7 separate regions of the Homo sapiens genome follow, and regions 2, 3, 4, 5, 6 and 7 are each linked to region 1. The links are contacts of gene promoters, found by promoter capture Hi-C in human tissues and cell types (Jung and others, 2019). All regions are on one chromosome and are shown on one strand. Each heading gives the region's core, a stretch centred on a gene start or on the middle of the fragment in contact. The rest is flanking DNA. Distances are from core to core; before and after follow the strand shown.

Region 1 (2,994 bases), core at 168-2,667:
GGCATTGTGGAGCACGTATTACACATACTACAGATATTACACATACTCATATCTTCTGTATATGGGATATATGACTCAGAAGTAATAGCAAGTCAGATTACAACCTCTTAGGGAAAATCAACAGCAAATACAAGCTCACAGGCCGTGTGTACGGTTGACTTTTACATGACTTTGGATGCAAATTGACACAAACACCTCTCCATATTACAGTCATTTTTAGAGGGCAGACAGCATTCTTGAGGGGACCTGAATTGCTAGGTAATTAAAATGTATGTATGTAGAATAAAATAATCTTGGAAATAAGAGGTTTCCGTAAGCCTTCTCTCTAAAATAAGGTCACCTTCTTTGAGGTAGAGATTCTGTGCCTTGTGGAAGGAAAGCCACTTCATAAAGCAGCACAAGAATAGCCAGTTATTGAAAGGGCCATTATAAAATTACTAGCCAATGGTATTCGCTACTCTTACAATTTGTCAATCCATTCATCCCTAGGAAAAAGACAGCATAAAAGAGAGTTCTGTTCATAGGTAGAAGCAATTTATGGGAAGACTTTGGAAATGTAGAACCATTGTTTTTGATGACCATAAGAAAAAGAGGGGGTGCAAGAGGGGAGCACTATGAGGGGCCCCTGGAATAACAGCACAAAGCAAGTTAGATTCAAAGAGTGGAGTAGACCTTTGTCTAAGGGGCTTATCCTGACAAATTCAACTTTGAAGGCAGCCTGGGTCATTCTTGGAAAAGGCCATTCTTTGTCTCCAGTGACCCCAGAGACATCATATAAGGATGGGGTGATGATGCAGCAGCCGGGACCAGGTCCCAGTTGCAGTGGACAGGACAGAAGGGACTGAATGGGGCAGCAGGCTGGGGCGCCACCAGGTGCAAGCAAAGCTCAGGGATAGGGCCCCTCCCCTCCGTCCCGGCCGCTCGCTGCGCCCCCTCTGGGCGGTGCAGGCTCCGGCTCCCGCGCCGGGGCTGCCTCTCACGGATTTCAGCCCGGTGGGAGGCAGTGCCCAGAGCCTCTTTTTCCTTATCTCACAAAACCCTAAAAGCCGAACCCCTACAACCAGCAGACAAAACTGCTCCCCGAGCTTCGGCTCTTTCCTGCTTTCCAGGCGTTTCTCCGGGAATAACTTACTTAGTGGCACTGGGAGAAAGGTTGGGACTGGGGGGTCGGGGACCGAAACCCAAAAGATTCCCCCAGCATGGAGCACCCACGTTTCCAGTGGCGGGGGATGCACGTTGGTTTGTGCCCAGCCCGCCCCCACCAAGCCCGGTCCTCGACGCGCTGACACGCTAGCTGGCATGGGCGGCGGGGTGGGCGTCTCTGGGTCTGTGGCTCTGTCCTGCTCGCCCCCGCCCCTTCCTCCCGGACCGCGCCGGCGCTGTGCGGCTTTTTCCCCAGCACGCGGCGCTGCACTCGCTTTTATCTCGGAGCCGCGTCGCTTCGTGCGCTGCCAGCGGGGCTCAGCCAGTCGGCTGGAATTGAGTAGCATTCATTGAATCTGCGGATTTCATGACGTCTCTCTGCGTGGTCCACCACTTTTCTCCTAACCGGGGATTTTTTTTTTCTTCTGCCACTCTTATCTTTCCCCACTTCATTCCACCCAGTCTCCCTCCCCCGTCCCTGCCCAAACGCGCGCCCCTCCGCCCCTCCCTTGGCCCCAGCGCCCAGCCCTGCTCTCCGCGCTCGGCCAGAGGGAGCCAGTCCGGAGACGGCCGCACCTGGCTGGAGAGGCTGGGCGGGCGGAGGGGTGGAGACCCGCGGACGCCGGGAAGCCGGACCTGGAGCCGGAGCAGCCGCGAGCAGAATGGAGTCTCCTAACAGCCTCTCGGTGCTGATGTGAAATTTGACCATCTGATTCCAGTTTTTTTCTTTTCCTTTTCTTTTTTGCATTTCCTTCCCTCGCCATCCGTCGTGTAGTGAATTGTTCAGTCTTGCTCCGTTTCAAGAGAGGAGATCATGATTGAGTGAAGCCACCCCGTCCGCAGCCAGGTAAGCGGTGCGCTGAGCTGCTCGCAGGCGAGGAGCTGGCGTCCACCTGGGCGAGGCGTTCCGTGCTCTCGGGTCCCCGCGTCCCCTTCCCCAGCTCCGCCGTCGCCGCAGGCATCTCCACTCTCATGAGAAACATTGTGCCCAAGTCAGCCGAAAGGCGAGGGAGAAGCCGGTTACATAACAGAAGGGGAATCTGTTTCATACGGTTTTCATTAGCGACTGAAACTCGCACGGGGGGCGGGGGAAGGAGGGGTCTGCATCCCTGGGCTCGCAGAAACCCAGTCAGTTATTGCAGACATCATTTCAACATCCGCTGGCAAAGACTTAAATGCACTGATTAACTGACAGGTGCGGCTTGTGATGTAGTCATTTACAGTTGGGAAAAGCCTATTGTCTTTGTGGAAGGCAGTCTTCTTGTTCTGCTTTGCATGGAGAGGAGAGGAGACAACACGAAAGGGAGGAAAAGTGAGGGTTGGGGAGAAACATGCGGAGAATGGGAAACAGAATACTGTAACTCCTAACTGTTCTCTATCCTTAAAACCGAAGATGTGCTAGCATGACTAAAAACAGTGAATAGGAAGATCTTCCTAGGAGTAAACTGAATTATTTTGTAATTGGAAGGGAAGAAAAAACACTTTAGATAAAATGAGATGTGTGTGGCATTTAGAGGACTGGGTGGCTGTGGATATTTGCTTCCCTGTGGATATATTTTCATTTTCATCAAAACATTAAGCTTGGATTAGTTTTTAAGTGAAATAACATCAGTATTCCCAAAACCCAATAAAAGCCCAGTGGATCCACAGGTACATCTGTTGTACTAGGTGCAATATGGAGAGATTGTCAGGGGGAAAATATATCTTAATAGAAACAGCCACAGAGGGTGAGGTTAGTGGAGAAACAAAATACCAGAATTTTCCAAAGAATTCCGCCTCCAACCCCCAAAAAAAGGAAGAGAAAAAAAAAAAAACCCCACAACTCCAGTGTTTGGGAGTTGGAGATGTATT
Region 2 (2,994 bases), core at 300-2,799, 490 kb before region 1:
AGAGTCTTGGTGTATCTATATTTCATTTCCGATTCTGTGGTCAGTATTTTTCAGTATTTTGCATAAATACTGTTATTATTATTTTTGTTGTTGTTGTGATCTGTAATTAGCACCTTCCTGATATGTGTGGCTTACTCTTATTTCCATATAAATATATATAAATATACCAGTAGTTTTCTAAGGAAAAGAAGTTTCCTCTTATTCTTACTCATTTTAAAATAAATAAATAAAATTGAACATAAATGAGAAAAAAGAATTTTTAAAATCTTATGCCTACAGGAAACTTTAGATTGAGCAAAAACAAGGGCATGTGATGTGAATAATCCCAAGATTCCAGAACTATTCACTTTAAAGACAATGATCTATGGATGTGAGGCAGCTTTTGTCTTTCCCCCAAAATGTTCTCCTGGGTAGCCAGGGAGGCTGGCTGGAGGCTGTGCTTGTGGAAGGCAGCTGGTCAGAAATCCCACGTGGATGGGGATCTACCCCAAGATGAAGATCCCTGGCTTCAGGAATTGACTGAATGTGTTCCCACCCCTTTCAGATCCTACGCTATGGAGTACAGACCATGTGCGGCAGTGGCTGGAGTGGGCGGTGAAAGAATATGGCCTTCCAGACGTCAACATCTTGTTATTCCAGAACATCGATGGGAAGGAACTGTGCAAGATGACCAAGGACGACTTCCAGAGGCTCACCCCCAGCTACAACGCCGACATCCTTCTCTCACATCTCCACTACCTCAGAGAGAGTAAGCTCCCCCTTCCTCCAAGGATAGATGGCTGTGGCTATGGTTCTTATGACCTGAGCTTCAGAGGGTTCAACCAGGTGTGTCGACAGCATCCTCCTGCCCTCGCCCAGTTCCCACTGGGGATCCGAGGGAGCCACATGCTTGGTATGTGATGACTTAGGGGAGCAACACCCTGGCCACATCACCTGATGAGAAGTAGTCAGCGCTCTCAGGAGAAGCCAAAATTCACTTCAACACTCAGCTGCCTCCTCCAGGGTCCTGCGACCAAGAAGATGGAATGTCAAAGGGGAAAGGAAGCGTTAACTGGTCACACATTAGTTAAGTCTCCATGATACCCCGAATCGAAATAGAATCATTAAGGCTTCTCTTTCGTAGGAATTAGGGGGATTATTCTCCCTAAAGCTACATGAAGCCCCACTTTATATTCTAACCTGAGCACAGAACAAGGGAAGTTTTCACTTTGTATCATGTGATTCGGCTTAACCTGACAGAAAGGGATGGCATGTTGGCATGAATCCAGAATGTTTGCTGCATGCTTTAATTTCTACAACGTCCAGCATGGTGAGAAGGAAGTAGTGTGACAGACAGTGAGGTGGATAAATTCTCCTCCATTGCTTTGCCTGGCATCCCAACCACTTCTTCCCTGAATTAAAGACGGGCCCCCATGTAGGTTTTAACATGCTAACAAGTAGCAGGTTGCTGGAAATAGTTATAAGCTTCCCATGATGTTAGTGTGGGAGTGGGGGAACGGTTTTCTTTCTTTCTTTTTCTTTCTTTTTTTTTTTTTTTTTTTGTAAGAAAGGTAATTCTCTTTCTCTCTCTCTCTTTTTTTTTTCATTTTGATGTCGCTTTTTGTTTTGTTTTGTAGCTCCTCTTCCACATTTGACTTCAGATGATGTTGATAAAGCCTTACAAAACTCTCCACGGTTAATGCATGCTAGAAACACAGGTAATGCTGGCCCCGCCCCTGCCTCCCAGCAAGAGCGTAGGGTCTTACGTACAGGTTGCATGCTTTCATGGGAAACCAGTCAGCGCGTGCCAGGAAGACAGAACGCAGGTAGATGATTCAGAATACTTTCGGATACTTAGGAATGTACCACAGCCTAAAGGAAGGTGAAGCCCTTTGGTTTTCTGAGCGCTTCCCAAGCACCCCACTTTGATTATCAAAGGGTTCCTTTTTAACCAGGAGACGTGCAGAATTTGCCTTTAGCCATAACTTAGCTCACATTTGCCGGATTACAGTCTTCTTCTGTTGGTCCCAATATATTCGCTGTGCTGACTCTGTAGACACTAAAAGCATGTTCGATATAAAAGGGCCCTTAGCAACCTCCTTTAATTTTTTCCATTTTTATTCTTAAAGAAATATTTGCTAGGATAAGTTGGAATTTTCTTTTTCCTTTCCAATAAACTTTTAGGCTATTTGATTTGTTTTCCTACAGACTTTGTATGTTTGCAAAAGGCAGGAGGGAATTTCTGTAACATTTTGAGAGCTTTTGTTCAGAGGGAACCTCTGCTATAATTTTGGAGAATATGAAATTAGTCACTAACCAAATGCCTGTTTTCTATCTCTAACCGTTGCCTCTACATTTGACTTAGTTATGTATTTATTTTGCCTGAGCCTAAGTAGGGTTTAACACCGTGCCTCATCCTGGCTAACCTTCCTCCCTCGCCCCCCGCTCACAGCAGAGGCTGGGTTTTCTGTGGATGAATGTGTTCCTGGTTCACATCCATCTGCTCCTTCCTGATGGAGAGAGTTCCGGAAGCATGGCCACCGGCTGCTCACCCCACTCTGTTAGCTGCAGGGACCCTCCACAATCACTCGGGCTAGGGAGGGAGACGGGAAGTGCCAGAAAGCCTTGCAAGTCAGCCAGTTAACTCACGATCAGCCCTCACATAGAAATACGCAATTTTCCCAATATTTACCATTTTATTTTAAAATATAAAATGTGAGTGAGTCCCGGTTTGAGTATTACAATGAAATTGCTCATTTATCATGGTCTTCTATATTCAACACATTGTCTTTTTAATCTGAAGTTTTAAAAAACCTGCTTCGAGTTGGTAGTACACTTTTTCAATAATTTTGGTTGCACACATCAGCCTATTAGTGACCTTGTGGCCAGAAATAACAGATAACTTAGAGGAAGTTACTTCCCCTTCTTAGGAAACACCTTTGAGCTATGCACATTTTCTGATAATTTCACATTTATTTATGAGTTCTTTAACCATTGAGTGAAAGTTTCAAAAAA
Region 3 (2,994 bases), core at 236-2,735, 430 kb before region 1:
ACTTTCCGATCAGATCCCTGACTGCCTCTGCCTCCACGCACACATTTTCTTTGGTTCCCAGCTACTACAGAGAAAAGCCCCACTCGTTACTTCTGAAGAAACTCGGCAATTTGTCAGTGGCTTACTTGCCACCACTCCGCTCCGCATTTCCCAAGCTTCAGCCATGCTGACCACCCCATTTTCCTCATTTCCAGCTTCCTCAGTTTGCTTATACTTGGAAACTCATCTTTCTAGAGCTCCTTAGCCCTCTGCTTCTCCCTGCCAAAATCTTTCCCATCCTTGTAGGCCCTGCATAAATACTCTTTTTCTCTAGTGACTTCTGTGAAGTAACCACTCCCTCCTTGGACTGCCTGTGACATTACAAATGCCACTGTGTAGCTGGAAAGCTCTTTGCGTCATTCAGAAGTGGGGTCTTATTCATCTTGAAATGCCCAGAGCCTAGCCCAGTGCCGGGCACTTTGCAGATGTGCAACACTTATTGACTGGCTGAGAGAGTGAATGAATTATTGAATGAATGACTGTGTACACATGGCCCACCCTAACCATTTGAGCTCCATGATCCCCAGGAATTTAGGATCTTCTACTGATTGATGAAGGCAATTAAGCAGAATTTTTGTGTCTTTAGCCCAAAAGGTATAAACAAATATTGTTTGCCCTCTGTTTATCTTTCCCTGAATAGATAGTTGGTAGCAGAAACGTGACATCATAAAGGCTAACCACAAAGATACACCGGAGAAAAACTGATTCTGTTGGTCAAACAACTAAAATTGTCTGTGTCTTAGAATTTGTGAATATTATTTATTGGATTTATTCAAAGATAATGGAAACTGTTTGTGCTCTTATACTATGAACTGTGATTCTAAAACCATTTTCAAAGTCAAGTCAAGTAGTTTAGATTTTGGTTGACTGACCTTATTAAAAGAGTATGAAAATAAATCTTTTGAGATTCACTAGGATAGACGTCAGAGAGACCTGAGATGCGTTAGTCTCTAGGGAGTGTGGGCAACAAATTAGATGAAGTAGGTTATCTTATTTCATCTTGGAGTCTAGCCAGGCTCCCGAAATAAGATCGTCCCCACCTTCCACTTAAGTAACTAAACACATGCTCCAGCCATGGAATTACCCAGATCACTGATGCAGTGATGTTTTCTTGGCTCCAGCCTTTTAGATCAGTTGTCCACTCTGCCCGTGTTCCCCAGGTAATTCGCAAACACTGTTCCACTTTGCTTCCTGTAACTATAGCCAGAGACATGTGGAACAGTCAAGAGAGTCACTATTTCCATCACTGTTCATGAGCAATTTTCTTACTTAAACCACATCGCTCCAACCCTCCCCTCAGAAAACAACCCAAACCGAGAATATGTTTTCTTAAGAAACCTCAGTCAAATATCTCGGCTAGTTTTCCATTTTCTTTTAGCAGATTCCAGGAAACGGGGGTGTAGGGGTGCCTTAGGAAGCCCCAACTTCTGAGATTCCAGACAGGACCCTCCCATCCCCATCCTGAGAAAGGTTAGCTAGGGGTCAGGTGTGTGTGTTTTGTTGCGTTTTCTCTTTCTCCTAGTACAAGCAAAAGGATAAGTTCAGGTTTTTCTGCTTTATTCTCTCAAGAAATGATTGCTTAAAAAAAAAGATGGTCACACGTGAGGTTTTCCTTTCTCTTAGGTACAGATGGTGACAATTACTGGGACACTTAGCTACTTGTTTCTATGCAGTGCTGGAACCTCAGTGAATCTTAGCAAAGACCCTGCACTCTTTCCTGTGAGCAGCTGCTGCCAGGGACTAGAGAGAAATGAGGCGAGACCTGTCTGTTTCACAGAGTCTCCATTCCCCAGGAAATCCTTCCCCAAATCACTCATGATTGTGCTCGCCAAGGCTTCATAAACAAAGACATTTTCCCTACCAAGACCTGCAGTATGTAGGAATCCCTCTTTCCTTCAAACCGTCAGACCTCTCCCACCCTCAAGGTGAGAAGTCTCCAGTGTCCTGGGAAGCAACGAAATGTGTGACTCAGTTGCCTGCCTTGTAACCATCCCGTGAGGGGCCACAACCCATGGGACCTGCACCTTCTGAGGCAGGTTGACTTTCTGGAGGTCTCAGCAGAGAAAACGAAATGGAGGCAAGCCACAACTGCCACCTCTTTTGCCAGAGGAGACTCCAAGAATCACAGTAGGCCAGGTGATAGGCTTTCCCCCTTGGAACAAGCTTTAAGGAAAGATAAGGGCTTATTGCAAAAGGAGTCGCTTCATCCATCATCTGTGTAAAACAGTTACCTTTCACTTTCTGAGACTCTCTTCAAACAAACTTCTTTCCTTATTCTCTAAACTGCTGCTCTCACTAACCAAATGCCATAGACGAGCCTTCCTTTACAAGCAACGGAGCAAATGACAACCATTCTTGTGGCTGAACAGTGGCAAAACATCTTCCAGATCATAAGCCAAGCCATCCTGTCTAGGAAGATGTGTAGAAACTGCCCTCATGGCTCATGACCGCTGTTCTGGCAAGAGAGGCCCCCGGCATCCGAAAAGCAAGAACAGGAGGTAACTGGAAGGGATTCCTCCAGTTCCAGAGACTCGAGCTGTGAAACAAACAACAATCCAAGAGTGTTCATGTGCTGCGATTTCCACTAGGGATAATAACTGCTACCATCGCTTGGCTATTGCCTGCCAGGCTCTGGGCTTTCTCTTAGGTATATCATCTCATTGCAGCCTCTCAAGAACCATATTTTACAGATAGAAAAACTGAGGTTTAGACAGATTAATAAATTGGGCAAAGACATAATCTCACAACTCATAAATCGTAGGGCTTGGAGTCGGGCTCAGAAATCTCTTCTCTTAACCAGCCCTCATGCTCAACTGCCCTCTCCTTGCATAGCAGGGACTGTCCTGCTTCCCGTGATGATTTCGCATGAGGATGTGCTGGGCTGAGGAGGGGTGAGGACACTCTTGCTTCTGGAAGGGGACTTTAAGGGAGACAGTGGCTCCTTTCCTGTGTGCA
Region 4 (2,994 bases), core at 251-2,750, 310 kb before region 1:
AGGTTTGCTGTCTCCTTTGCCTGTGGGTCTGGGGCCCTGAGCTGGGGGAGACCTGTGACCTCAGGCATGCCATCGGGGAACTTAAACCCAGAGAAGGGATTGGTTCTTCCGTGATCCAGTACCCCTCCCTGACAGCGCAACAGAATCCAAGGGATTACAGGATGATTTCAGGGATAGTGCGCCACAGGACTGTGGTAAGGTTTGGGGCCCAAGACAGGACCCATCCCATAAGGACAGAAGGGGAGCCTGATCAACTCCTAGGGGTGCACTGAGTAGTCTGACCCAGGATGTGGGAGTGGCTCACAAAGTCGGATGAAACCTACACCCCACCCAGAGAAAAGGAATGGGGAGCAGGGAAGTGTGTGAATGCATGTGAAAGAGGCAGTTCTAAAAGGAGTCAATGTGGGGAGTGAAGTGTGTGGGGCCACAGGTCTCTTAGCATAGACCATACGCCCCTAGCAAAGTGTGGGACCAACCAGGACTAGTGGCAAACGTCCTCCGGGGCTACCACATATGGCTTAGGGAGGCACCCCACAATTCAGTGATTGTGGTGGTCCAGGTTTGGGACTCATATGAACCCTCCATTAAAGCTAAGCAGCATCTGAAAGTTCCCATGAGGGAGATGGTCTAATCAGTCTGAAGAGAAAGTAAAAGAGTGAATAAGTTGTGTCATAACTGGGAGGAAATGGGAAGGAAGCTGTCAAAACCCACCCCATTACAATGTATGTTAAAGAACTTCAAGAAAAGTTATGCAGAGTGTTGTGGGATCAAGTTGACCCCCCAGAGGTTGAGAACTCTCTGTGAAATAGAATGGACCTCTTTTGGTGTGAGATGGCTGGTCGAAGGAACTATAGATAGGGAAACAATTGGCCATGTATTTAAGGTGGTGACTGGGTTGGGAGGACAGCCAGGGCATCCAGACCAATTTCCTTATATTGACTCATGGCTACATATAGTCCAAAACTGACCTGCGTGGTTGCAGCTCTGCCTGACAGCTTATGGCAAAACACTCGTGGCTCAAGCCAAGCTTAAAGTGAAAGAAAAATCAGCTTCGCTGTCAGCTACAGAAACAAAGGGAAAGCCACAGGAAAAACCAGTTCTGCAGGAATCACCAGAGGAGATAGGAATCCTCCCTACAGTCCAATCTACCCGCCTTTACTAAGGCCAGCCCCCGAGGAGTCAAATTCAAATGGTAACGAACCCTGGGCCTTGCCTCAAAAAGAAAAATCAAAACCACTGCCCCAGGTCAAGGAGGAAAGTCAGGATGATCAAGCCTGCTGCCTCCAGTCTGGCCATGCCTGGGCTTTGCAGATGCCTCCCCGGGAAACTCAGGGACCCCTCTATTATACTGAACATGGCCAGATTCAAGGGGAGAGAAAAGGAACCCCTCCTCTGGGAGGCTGACCAGGAGAAAGCATTTAAAAAAATCAAAGAAGCCTTAACACAGGCCCCAGTCTTAGGACTGCCTGACATAACTGAGCCTTTCTTTCTATATGTCCATGAACAAAAAGGAATGGCTGTAGGAGTCCTGACTCAATTCATAGGATTGTGGCATCGCCTGGTGGCATACTTATCCAAGCAACTAGACTCAGTGGCACTAAGGTAGCCTCCTTGCTTTAAGACACTAGCTGTCACTGCCCTACTGGCACAAGAAGCTAACAAACTGACTCTAGGGCAGCAGCTGACCATCCAGTTACCACATTCAGTTATAACTCTAATGAACCAGAGAGGGCATCACTGGTTATCAAATCCAGGAATGACTCAGTACCAGGGACTCCTATGCAAAAATCCCCACATAGCTTTAGAAACAGTAAACACCCTTAACCCAGCCACCTTGCTCCTGATTGAACTGGGAACCCCACTCCATGACTGTGTGAAAATGGTAGATGAAGTATTCTTGAGTAGGGGAGACCTTACAGACCAACCCCTCAGGGACCCAGTTGTTAAGTAGTTCACAGATGGGAGCAGTTTCATACTGGAAGGGGTCCGTTGGGCAGGTTATGCGGTGGTAACGTTGGACTCAGTGATAGAGGCTCAGCCTCTGCCCACCGGAGCATCAGCCCAGAAGGCAGAGCTAATGGCCCTAACAAGGGCTCTTTTGCTGATGAGAGACAAAAAGGTCAATATTTACACTGATTCCAAATCACAAAGACAAAAGTGTGTCTTTGCCACATTGCATGTTCATGAAGCTATATACAAGGAGAGAGGACTCTTAACTGCTGGGAAAAAAAGAAATAAAATACAAAGAGGAGATTTTACAGCTCTTAGGTACTGTATAGGCCCCAAAGAAGGTAGCTGTTATGCACTGCAGAGGGCACCAAAAAGCAAGAACACTAGAGGCCAAAGGAAACAGAAAGGCAGACAGGGAGGCAAAACGGACAGCAATGATTACTCCACACTTTGAAAAGGAATCCTTAGCTATGCTTCTCCTCCCAGAACCTTCCCTCCCCGAGATCCCAAGTTACTCTCCAAATGAGAAGGCCTGGTTTGCCCAAGAAACTGGAAAATGCACTGAAGGAGGATGGTGGAAATTCTCTGATGGGAGACTAGCCATCCCTGAAATGGTGGCCCCTAAGTTTGTAAAACAATTCCACCAAGAGACTCACATGGGGAAAACGGCACTACAAACGCTACTGGGATGCCACCTCTATGTGCCACGGCTCAATGCCCTCACCCAAGCTGTGTGCAGGCAATGTCTAACATGTGCTCAGAATGACCCATAATAACCTACTCGGCCCCTGGGAATTTAGGAAATTGGAGCCACACCCTGTGAAAACCTGCTTATGGACTTCACAAAGCTGCCCTGAGCAGGGGGCTATTAGTACATGCTAGTACTCTTCTGCACCTTGTCAGGATGAGTCAAAGCTTTCCCCACCCAAACAGAAAAAGCACGGGAGGTAACCAAAGTAATGTTAAGAGACATTATCCCAAGATTTGGACTGCCCCAACTCTTGGGTCAGACAATGGACCAGCACTTGTAGCTGAAATAGTTCA
Region 5 (2,994 bases), core at 364-2,863, 310 kb after region 1:
GAAGATAAGACTGCATCTAGTTTGGGGGTTGCATGTTTGTGGACATTCATGTTTCTATGTACCTGGAACTTCTTATTCTCACCATCACACAGAATTTTCAAGAACTAGTTAAGCAAAGAAAGCAAAGCCCAGCAGGTGTCAGAATTGGGTCCCCAAGCTGAGGGTCATTAGGGTGCATGTCAGTGTGCCAACTCCAATATCCACACCTAGAGAACGCACATCTTCCCAAAAGAAATGAAGCACAGATGATACTTGATCCTCAACTTTGTCTCCAGAAATTTTTTCAGGAACTTGAGTTCTTTATCAAATGCTCACATCCTACAGAGAAATAAAGTGTTCCATTTTCAAGGTTCATGAAGCTCGTCAATGCTGGGAGCAGGCACACACTTGTATTTTTATACTCAGGGATCCCAACAGGCAACTAAAACTAGACAAGGACAAAACTCCACTCAAAATATTCTGAAAGTTAGCTGATGCCCCATATTTTATTACTCCAAATGTGTATTCACTTGCCTGAGTGCTGGCCATGAGCACTCAGTGAACACTTGCAGTACAGTGAGTGATGTCCTTGACAAGTTACTATGAAGACTCTGAGAAAAAGTAACATCCCCCACTGTCCTCAACAAGCCTGTAATCCCATGGCTGCCAGCCCTTACCATGCAACAACACTGCGCTAAGTGCATCGAACCACACAAAACCCTGTGAGAAAATACTGCTTCCCACTTCACACGTGAAGTAACTGAGTCTAGTTTTAGAAATACCTAAACGAAGAGGGACAGGCACAACAAATTTGCTGGAATGTAAAGAAAGTAGATCAGTTTCTGCGTAAGCAGTAAGAAATGGCCTCATGAGGAAGAAAGGGACATTTGCCCTGACATTTCTCAAAGACTGCTTAGGTTTTGGAGACAGAGATCCAAGGGCAGGCAAGCACAATGGTTCATGCCTGTAATTCCAGCACTTTGAGAGGCCAAGGTGGGAGGATTGCTTGAGCCCAGGAATTCAAGATTAGCCTGTGCAACACAGCAAGACCCCATCTCTATTTTAAAAAGAGAGAGAGAGATCCAAAAGCAAAGGCATTTCAGTTTGCAAGGCCAGCATGGGAGAGGGTCTTAAAACAGAAACACACAAGGTAAGATTGGGGGATGGTACCTAGACCAGCCTAGGATCATAGGATTTGATAAAATATGCATTTGGAAAACTGGTGCTAATTTATAGAGACTTAGAATTTCAGGCTAAGGACAAGGACTAAGAAACGAATAGCATGAACAGTATTATTGATAAACCCATCATTGCATCTTAAAGGCTCTGAAGTCTTTAGTATTGAATTAAAAAATAATTTTCACTGGACAAAACCAAAAGGTCTTTACACAACTGTCAAGCACTTTGAAATGATTCAGCAAAAAGCAGAATAAATCACTAGTGGAATTTCAATAGCATGTAGTTGTAAACCATCATGTGTCCAGCAAAATCACAAAACAAGAGTTTATTTTAGAAGGGACTTAGGGATATTAAGAAATATAACATACAAAATAACTAAAGTTTTCTCCAAGCAAAACCAATGATCCTTTAGGGATGAACAGAAAGAAAACAAGAAATGCTTCTTTCAAAAGTTGCTACCAAGGCTTCTAAGATTTCTTTGGAATAAAGTCACTAAGATTTGCTTCTGAGGTCAATCTTGCCAACTTTTCCACCATGCTTTTTAGGAAGGAACACCAGGTAGGGCTCAAGTACTGGTTTGGCTCCTGTCCCATTTTTTGGTCCTTTTGTAACTCCCTTTACTCAACTCCAAGTATGTCTGTGCACGGACAATGAGACGAAAGCATGCTCAATGCGAAAGCACAAATTATGTATTGAGAAATCACTACAATGCCAAATTTTTTTAAAATAAAAAAAAAATATATATATATATATATATCTTTAAGAACTCGCTGTGTTAGGGAAACTGTTTACATATTGAGGTGTTCCTCTTTTTTTGACTGGAACAATAAAAGAAAAATTTGATATGGCCTTGGTTTCTTTTTTATGTGTGTCTGTGTCCAAAGAAGTCGGCCTTTTCTACAAGTGAGAGCATGAATTGTTTCAAAGCGCAACACCCTGCCCCAGGGCCACTCAAGATGTCAGGCATATCAGGCATAACCCAAGGATAGTACCATGGGTTTGGAGTGATCTTCTCTCTTCTTCCCTCCCACTCTTCCTCTCTCTCCATCTCTTTCTTTCTCTCCCTAACTCTCTTGCTCCCTTTCCTCCTTCTCGCTCTCCCCCTCCTGTCTCTTTCCCCATCTCTCCCACAATGTTCTGCCTATGGCCAGATCCCAGCAATGGGTCAGCTCCGCTCCTTTCCACACCTACTGACCCAAGTGGGACTCCTTTGATACCTGTTTGTACCTTGCACTTCATGGAACTTGAAAAAAACGAAAGGGAATTAGGGACTTGCAGAGCAGTTGATCCTGCCCCTTGTCACAGCTCTAAGAGTCTTAATAAAAGGAGTTTGATCATTCATGATAAAGTTCCATGTTGGACTAAAGAAACATTCCGTGAGAGTTTTTCGTGTTCTCAGTGGTCCATTTTGCATGGGTTGGCTTTGCCAAACTCCAGTGCCTCGGCTCGGCTCTAACTCCTCCCCACCAGGGAATCTCGGGCTGGTGGCTTAGCCAGCTGTCCCTCTCTACCGAGGCGTGCAGGAAGCCAAGGTTTAAAATGACACGTGAGTTGCCTCATACTGTAACATGAACAAAAGTCATGTAAAAATGTGCCTAAGATAAATTCTTTCCCAGAAGCTAGTGTTTGGTGAAACAAACCCTGGGACATCGTGTGTATTTCGTCCTGATTTTCCTAATGTGCCCCTGCCAATATTACTGTTGTGCCTGGTGGAATTATTACCCTGTCCTCTGTGTCCCCCAGCCCCTGTGTGTCTGTCGCACTTGGCACCCATCAAGCCCCACGCAACCCTGTGGAGATGCATCCAGGGAAGAGCCCCATCTCTGCTTTTCTCTG
Region 6 (2,994 bases), core at 261-2,760, 280 kb before region 1:
TTTTGTATCTAGTGAAACTAAGCTTCATAAATGAAGGAAAGATACAGTCTTTTTCAGACAAACAAATGCTGAGAGAATTTGCCACTATCAAGCTAGCACTACAAGAACTGTTCAAAGGAGCTCTAAATCTTGAAACAAATCTTGGAAACACATCAAAACAGAACTTTCTTAAAGCGTAAATCTCAAAGGACCTATGAAACAAAAATACAATTAAAAAAAACACATACACAGAAAACCAAGTTATGCATGCACAAACAACCTGATGAATGGAATGGTACCACACATCTCAATACTAACGTTAAATGTAAATGGCCTAAATGCTCCACTTATAAGATACAGAATTGCAGAATGGATAAGAATTCACCAACCATCTGCTGCCTTCAAGAGATACACCTAACACATAGGACTCACATAAACTTAAGTTAAAGGGGTGGAAAAAGACATTCCATGCAAATGGGCACCAAAGGCAAGCAGGAGTAGCTATTCTTATGTCAGACAAAACAAACTTTAAAGCAACAGCAGTTAAAAAAGACAAAGAGGGATATTATATAATGGTAAAAGACCTTGTCCAACAGAAAAATATCACAGTTCTAAATATATATGCACCTAACACTGGAGCTCCCAAATTTATAAAACAATTACTAATAGACCTAAGAAATGATATAGACAGCAACACAATAATAGTAGGGGACTTCAATATTCCACTGACAGCACTAGACAGGTCACCAAGACAGAAGGTCAGCAAATAAACAATGATTATTTACAGAATATTCTACCCAACAACTGCAGGATATATATTATATTTAACAGCGCATGGAATCTTCTCCAAGATGGACCATATGATAGGCCACAAAATGGGCCTTAATAAATATAAGATAATTGAAATTATATCAATCACTCTCTCAGACCACAGTGGAATAAAACTGGAAATCAACTCCAAAAGGAACCTTCAAAACCATGCAAATACATGGAAATTAAATAATCTGCTCCTGAGTGACCATTGGGTCAAAAATGAAATCAAGGTGGAAATTTAAAAAGTCTTCTAACTGAATGACAATAGTGACACAACCTACTAAAGCCTCTGGGATACAGCAAAGGCAGTGCTAAGAGGAAAGTTCATAGCCCCAAATGCCTGCATCAAAAAGTCTGAAAGAGCACAAACAAACAATCTGGTCACATCTCAAGGAACTAGGGAAATAAGAACAAACCAAACCCAAACCCAGCAGAGGAAAGGAAATAACCAAGACCAGAGCAGAACTAAATAGAATTGAAACAAACAAACAAACACAAAATAGAAAAGATAAATGAAACAAAAAGCTGGTTTTTTGAAAAGATAAAATAAAATTGATAGACCATTAGCAAGATCAACCAAGAAAAGAAGAGAGAAAATCCAAATAAACCCAATTAGAAATGAAATGGGAGATATTACAGCTGACACCACAGAAATACAAAAGATCATTCAAGGCTACTATGAACACCTTTATACACATAAACTAGAAAACTTAGAGGAGATGGATAAATTCCTGGAAAGATACAACCTTCCTAGCTTAAATCAGGAATAATTAGATACCTTGAAGAGACCAATAACAAGCAGTGAAATTGAAATGGTAATTTAAAAATTACCAAAAACAAAAAGTCCAGGACTGATGGATTCATAGCAGAATTCTACCAGACATTCAAAGAATTGGTACCAATCTTATTGACACTATTCCACAATATAGAGAAAGAGGAAACCCTCCCTAAATTATTCTATGAAGCTGATATCACCCTATTACCAAAACCAGGAAAGGACATAACCAAAAAAGAAAACTACAGACCAATATTCCTGATGAACATAGATGCTAAAATCCTTAGCAAAATACTAGTGAACCGAATCCAACAACATATCAAAAAAAAAAAAAAAATCCACCATGATCAAGTGGGTTGTATACCAGGCATGTAGGGATGGTTTAACATATGCAAGTCAATAAATGTGAACATCACATAAACAGAATCAAAAACAAAAATCACATGATTATCTTAATACATGCAGAAAAAGCATTAGACAAAATCCAACATCTTTTTATGATTAAAACTCTCAGAAAAATTGGCATACAAGGGACATACCTCAATGTAATAAAAGCCATCTCTGACAAACCCACAATTAACATAATACTGAAAGGGAAAAAGTTGAAAGCATTCCCTCTGAGAACTGGAACAAGACAAGGATGCTCACTCTCACTCCTCTTCAACATAGTACTGGAAGTTCTAGACAGAGCAATTAGACAAGAGAAAGAAATAAAGGGCATCCAAATGGGTAAAGAGGAAGGAGGAAGTCAAACTGTTGCTGTTTGCTTATGATATGATTGTTTACCTAGAAAACTCTAAAGACTCCTCCAGAATGCTCCTAGAACTGACAAAAGCATTCAGCAAAGTTTCCAGATACAAAATTAATGTACAGAAATCAGTAGGTCTTCTATACACCAACAGTAACCAAGGTGAGAATAAAATCAAGAACTCAACCCCTTTTACAATAGCTGCAAAAAAGTAAAATACTTAGGAATATACCTACCCAAGGAGGTAAAAGACTTCTACAAGGGAAACTACAAAATACTGCTGAAAAAAATCATAGATGACATAAACAAATGGAAACACATCTAATGCTCATGGATGAGTAGAATCAATATTGGAAAAATGACCATACTGCCAAAAGCAATCTACAAATTTAACACAATTCCCATCAAAATACCACCATCATTCTTCAAAGAATTACAAAAAAAAACCCTAAAATTAATATGGAACCAAAAAAGAGCCCACATAGCCAAAGCAAGACTAAGCAAAAAGAATAAATCTGGAGGCATCACATTACCTGATTTCAAAACATAGTGTAAGGTCATAGTCACCAAAACAGCATGATACTGGTATAAAAATAGGCACATAGAGCAATGGAACAGAATAGAGAAACCAGAAATAAACCCAAATACTTACAGCCAACTAATCTTCAACAAAGGAAAC
Region 7 (2,994 bases), core at 338-2,837, 270 kb before region 1:
CCCTCCCCCCTCCCCCCACCCCACAACAGTCCCAGGTGTAGACTGGATTAAGAAAATGTGGCACATATACACCACGGAATACTATGCAGCCATAAAAAATGATGAGTTCATGTCCTTTGTAGGGACATGGATGAAGCTGGAAACCATCATTCTCAGCAAACTATCACAAGGACAAAAAACCAAACACTGCATGTTCTCACTCATAGGTGGGAATTGAACAATGAGATGGTTTTGATGTGTGGAGTGAAGAAGGGGTACTCCACCATTCTTTTGAACATAGACATCCAGTTGTTCTAGCACCATTTGTTGAAGTCATGAATCATTTTTGTCAAGAAAAAGAATTTCCAATATGTAAATGAGTGACTTCCAGATTTTATAAAATCATAGGACATTACCTCTAGAATTCTGCTTATAGGTAACTTATTCCAAATATCCTTAAACAGGTCAATTAATTTACCCAAAATTATCCCTGCATCAAGTCTGTTCCCAGCTCATGTACCCAGGATCTGTGCCAGCCTGGAAACCATGTGGCTCGTCTTCTACTGTGTTGGTGGTCAGAATCTACTTCTCCTTTTTTTCCCCACACACTTGTATTTTCACTCAAGACTAAGATTCTCAAAAATCTAGTGAGTATGGTGAGTTGTGGTGTGGAAGGTTTGGGGAGAGAATTGCTGGTGACACATTTCATTTAAGAAAATAAAGCTTTGTGGAGGAAGATGCAGGAAGGAGGAGCCCTGGAGTTGATATAAGAAGGAATTGCAATTTTTAAAAAATCTTTCTTTAGTATAGAGTCCCAGAAAATCAGTGACATGATGAGAGGTCCACTCATTTACAGTGAAGCCACCATGGATAAAGGTCTTCTAGACCTTGGATTTGAGATGTGGGTATTCCATCCAGCACTGAGATTGTTTAGTGCAGCAGATTTTTCACTGGCTCACTCCGCTGCCATTCCCACTTCCTTCTACTGAACCTTCTAGTATAACAGATGCCAGGAGACTAAAAACCGTACTTAGCAGAGAAGATTTTGCATGTGGCTTAGATTCTGCCAAGCAGATGTCCACATGAGACCAGGAGGGTGTGAACAATGGGAGCCAGTGGCCATGGTTCGTGACAGAAACGTTCATTCTCCCGTTGCAGGTCTGGCAGTTTCTGAAGTCTGATTCCTAGAAACTTAGGTACTGAGCAGTAGGCAGCAGCAACAGAAACAGTTCCATAGGTGGTTGGGCATTTCCTTTGATTGCTGTATTTTTGATTATGTGATAATTAAACCTTATGCCCTGGGCCTCACTGAGATTCTGTAAGGTTCATCATTCCATCTGATACATCACTTTCTTTTCAGATCAAATAGAGTGCATTCTACTTTCTTCCACTATGAGCCTTGACCAATATAACCAGTAATCTAATCAACTATGAAAGGGCAATTAACACATTTTTCTCTAGGCTTTTGTCAAGTCTAGATAAATGTTTCTTTTGTGAAGAATGAATCTAAAAGAAAAAGATCAATACAGTCCTGATTTGAACAAAAGATTCAAAAAGTTGAAAGAATCAGTATCCCTGAAGACTCAGAGAAGCACAGAGACTTTTCAAAATGATTTATAGAAAAGCCAGAAATAAATTATTTTGGAAACAATTTTCCATTCTCAATAGAATAAAAGAAGGCAATGCCTCCATGCAATAAGATCAGTGAATCAAGCTGTGATCAAACAGAAGCAGTTATGAGATTCAAAAACATAAAGATGAGCCAAGACTATAAGGGGATAAAAAGGTTCTGTAATTTTATGCTTTAACATAAACTTTGCAAGGTCATGGCACCCAGATATTTGGTCAAACACTAGACTGGATGTTGCTGTGAAGACAGTTTTTGGGTGAGATTAACATTGAAATCAGGGGACGTTAAGTAAAGCAGTTTATCTTCTATAATGTGGGTGGGCATCCTCTTATCAGTTGAAGGCCTTAAGAGAAAAAGATGGAAGTTCCCCACCCAAGGAAGAAGGAATTCTACCTGCCATCTGCTTTTGAACCAGAGCTGCAACATTAATTCTTCCTGGGTCTCCAGCCTGCTGGCCTACTATGCGGATTTTAGACTTGCCAGGTTCCAAGGTAACATGAGCCAATTTCTTTAAATAAGTCTCTCTCTCTCTCTTTTTTTTCTCTCTCTCTTTTTCTCTCTCTCTCTCTCTCTCTCCTCAACATCCACACCCACACATCCTATTGGCTCTGTTTTTCTAGAGAACCATCACTAAGAAAAACAGCATATAGTTTAGTCTTATATTTTTGTACAGTCTGATCATTTATACCTTTTAGTTTAAATGTTTACTCCATCTACATTTATGTAATGAATTATATCATTAGGTTCATGTCTATCAAGTTCTTACTTGCTTTCTATTTGTCTCTGTCTATTATTCTGCTTTCTCCAATCTGCTCTTAAGGAAAATAATTGAATTTTTCATCTCAGACATTTTGATTTTTAGTTCTATAATTATTTCTTTATGTATATATATTTATTTTCTCCTGCCAGGATTCCCAGTTGACCCTCACCATGACCCCGTGTTCCTTTATATCTTTGCATATACTCTTCATAGGTGCTGTGCACTCCTTCTCTCATAACTCCAAACTTTTGGTCTCTTTAGAAGTGGTTGCTAATGACTGCTTTTCTTTTTTTGAGTCCCATTTTTCTATTTCTTCACATGTCTACCAATATTTTATTTTACTATGGGCTTTGTAAATGTTTTGTTTTAGAGACTTGGTCAGAGTGTTGAGTTCTGCCTTAGAGGGTGGTGAAGTTGGCTGCCTGTCTGTGGGGGACTGCAGTTGATATCTCCTCTCAATTCCCTCTGTCCTCCATCTGCTGCCTCCTTCTAGGACCCTTGACATTTTCCACATGCATGCGCAGTTTATGCGTGTGTAGTCAGCCAGGAACTGGGGCAAAGTCTGCACACAGATTTGGGGGATCCCCCCTCCTTGACATCCTCCTTTTTGGCATTCCTACCCACC

The links. The method cuts DNA at HindIII sites, captures the fragments that hold promoters and counts their contacts. A contact is called where the count stands out against the background at its distance.
Region 2: a contact is called between a fragment that was not itself captured here and the fragment with the promoter of KCNJ6 in region 1, in 4 of the 25 tissues and cell types used here (dorsolateral prefrontal cortex, liver, mesenchymal stem cells and 1 more).
Region 3: a fragment that was not itself captured here is called in contact with the fragment with the promoter of KCNJ6 in region 1 in 3 of the 25 tissues and cell types used here (H1 embryonic stem cells, dorsolateral prefrontal cortex and mesenchymal stem cells).
Region 4: a contact is called between a fragment that was not itself captured here and the fragment with the promoter of KCNJ6 in region 1, in 4 of the 25 tissues and cell types used here (H1 embryonic stem cells, mesenchymal stem cells, mesendoderm cells and 1 more).
Region 5: a fragment that was not itself captured here is called in contact with the fragment with the promoter of KCNJ6 in region 1 in 1 of the 25 tissues and cell types used here (mesenchymal stem cells).
Region 6: a fragment that was not itself captured here is called in contact with the fragment with the promoter of KCNJ6 in region 1 in 2 of the 25 tissues and cell types used here (IMR-90 fibroblasts and mesendoderm cells).
Region 7: a fragment that was not itself captured here is called in contact with the fragment with the promoter of KCNJ6 in region 1 in 3 of the 25 tissues and cell types used here (bladder, dorsolateral prefrontal cortex and thymus).

What each region holds. Positions count from the first base shown.
Region 1 is chr21:37,914,880-37,917,873 of GRCh38, reverse strand. It overlaps KCNJ6 (potassium inwardly rectifying channel subfamily J member 6), which reads left to right and starts at 1,417. Exons shown (of 4, transcript NM_002240.5): 1 at 1,417-1,990. The HindIII fragment of the contact is 8,322 bases long and covers 1-2,994 here.
Region 2 is chr21:38,401,260-38,404,253 of GRCh38, reverse strand. It overlaps ERG (ETS transcription factor ERG), which reads left to right. Exons shown (of 10, transcript NM_182918.4): 4 at 545-748; 5 at 1,617-1,697. Among named protein-coding and RNA genes, the nearest start is that of LINC01423, 57 kb to the right of the region's middle. The HindIII fragment of the contact is 6,085 bases long and covers 1-2,994 here.
Region 3 is chr21:38,347,597-38,350,590 of GRCh38, reverse strand. No RefSeq gene overlaps it. Among named protein-coding and RNA genes, the nearest start is that of LINC01423, 3.0 kb to the right of the region's middle. The HindIII fragment of the contact is 3,820 bases long and covers 1-2,994 here.
Region 4 is chr21:38,226,379-38,229,372 of GRCh38, reverse strand. No RefSeq gene overlaps it. Among named protein-coding and RNA genes, the nearest start is that of DSCR10, 22 kb to the right of the region's middle. The HindIII fragment of the contact is 3,540 bases long and covers 1-2,994 here.
Region 5 is chr21:37,606,385-37,609,378 of GRCh38, reverse strand. KCNJ6 (potassium inwardly rectifying channel subfamily J member 6) reads left to right here. Exons shown (of 4, transcript NM_002240.5): 4 at 1-2,006. All of the region lies in intron 1 of KCNJ6-AS1 (KCNJ6 antisense RNA 1), which reads right to left. Among named protein-coding and RNA genes, the nearest start is that of KCNJ6-AS1, 89 kb to the right of the region's middle. The HindIII fragment of the contact is 4,451 bases long and covers 1-2,994 here.
Region 6 is chr21:38,198,074-38,201,067 of GRCh38, reverse strand. No RefSeq gene overlaps it. Among named protein-coding and RNA genes, the nearest start is that of DSCR10, 6.6 kb to the left of the region's middle. The HindIII fragment of the contact is 7,007 bases long and covers 1-2,994 here.
Region 7 is chr21:38,181,728-38,184,721 of GRCh38, reverse strand. No RefSeq gene overlaps it. Among named protein-coding and RNA genes, the nearest start is that of DSCR10, 23 kb to the left of the region's middle. The HindIII fragment of the contact is 4,625 bases long and covers 1-2,994 here.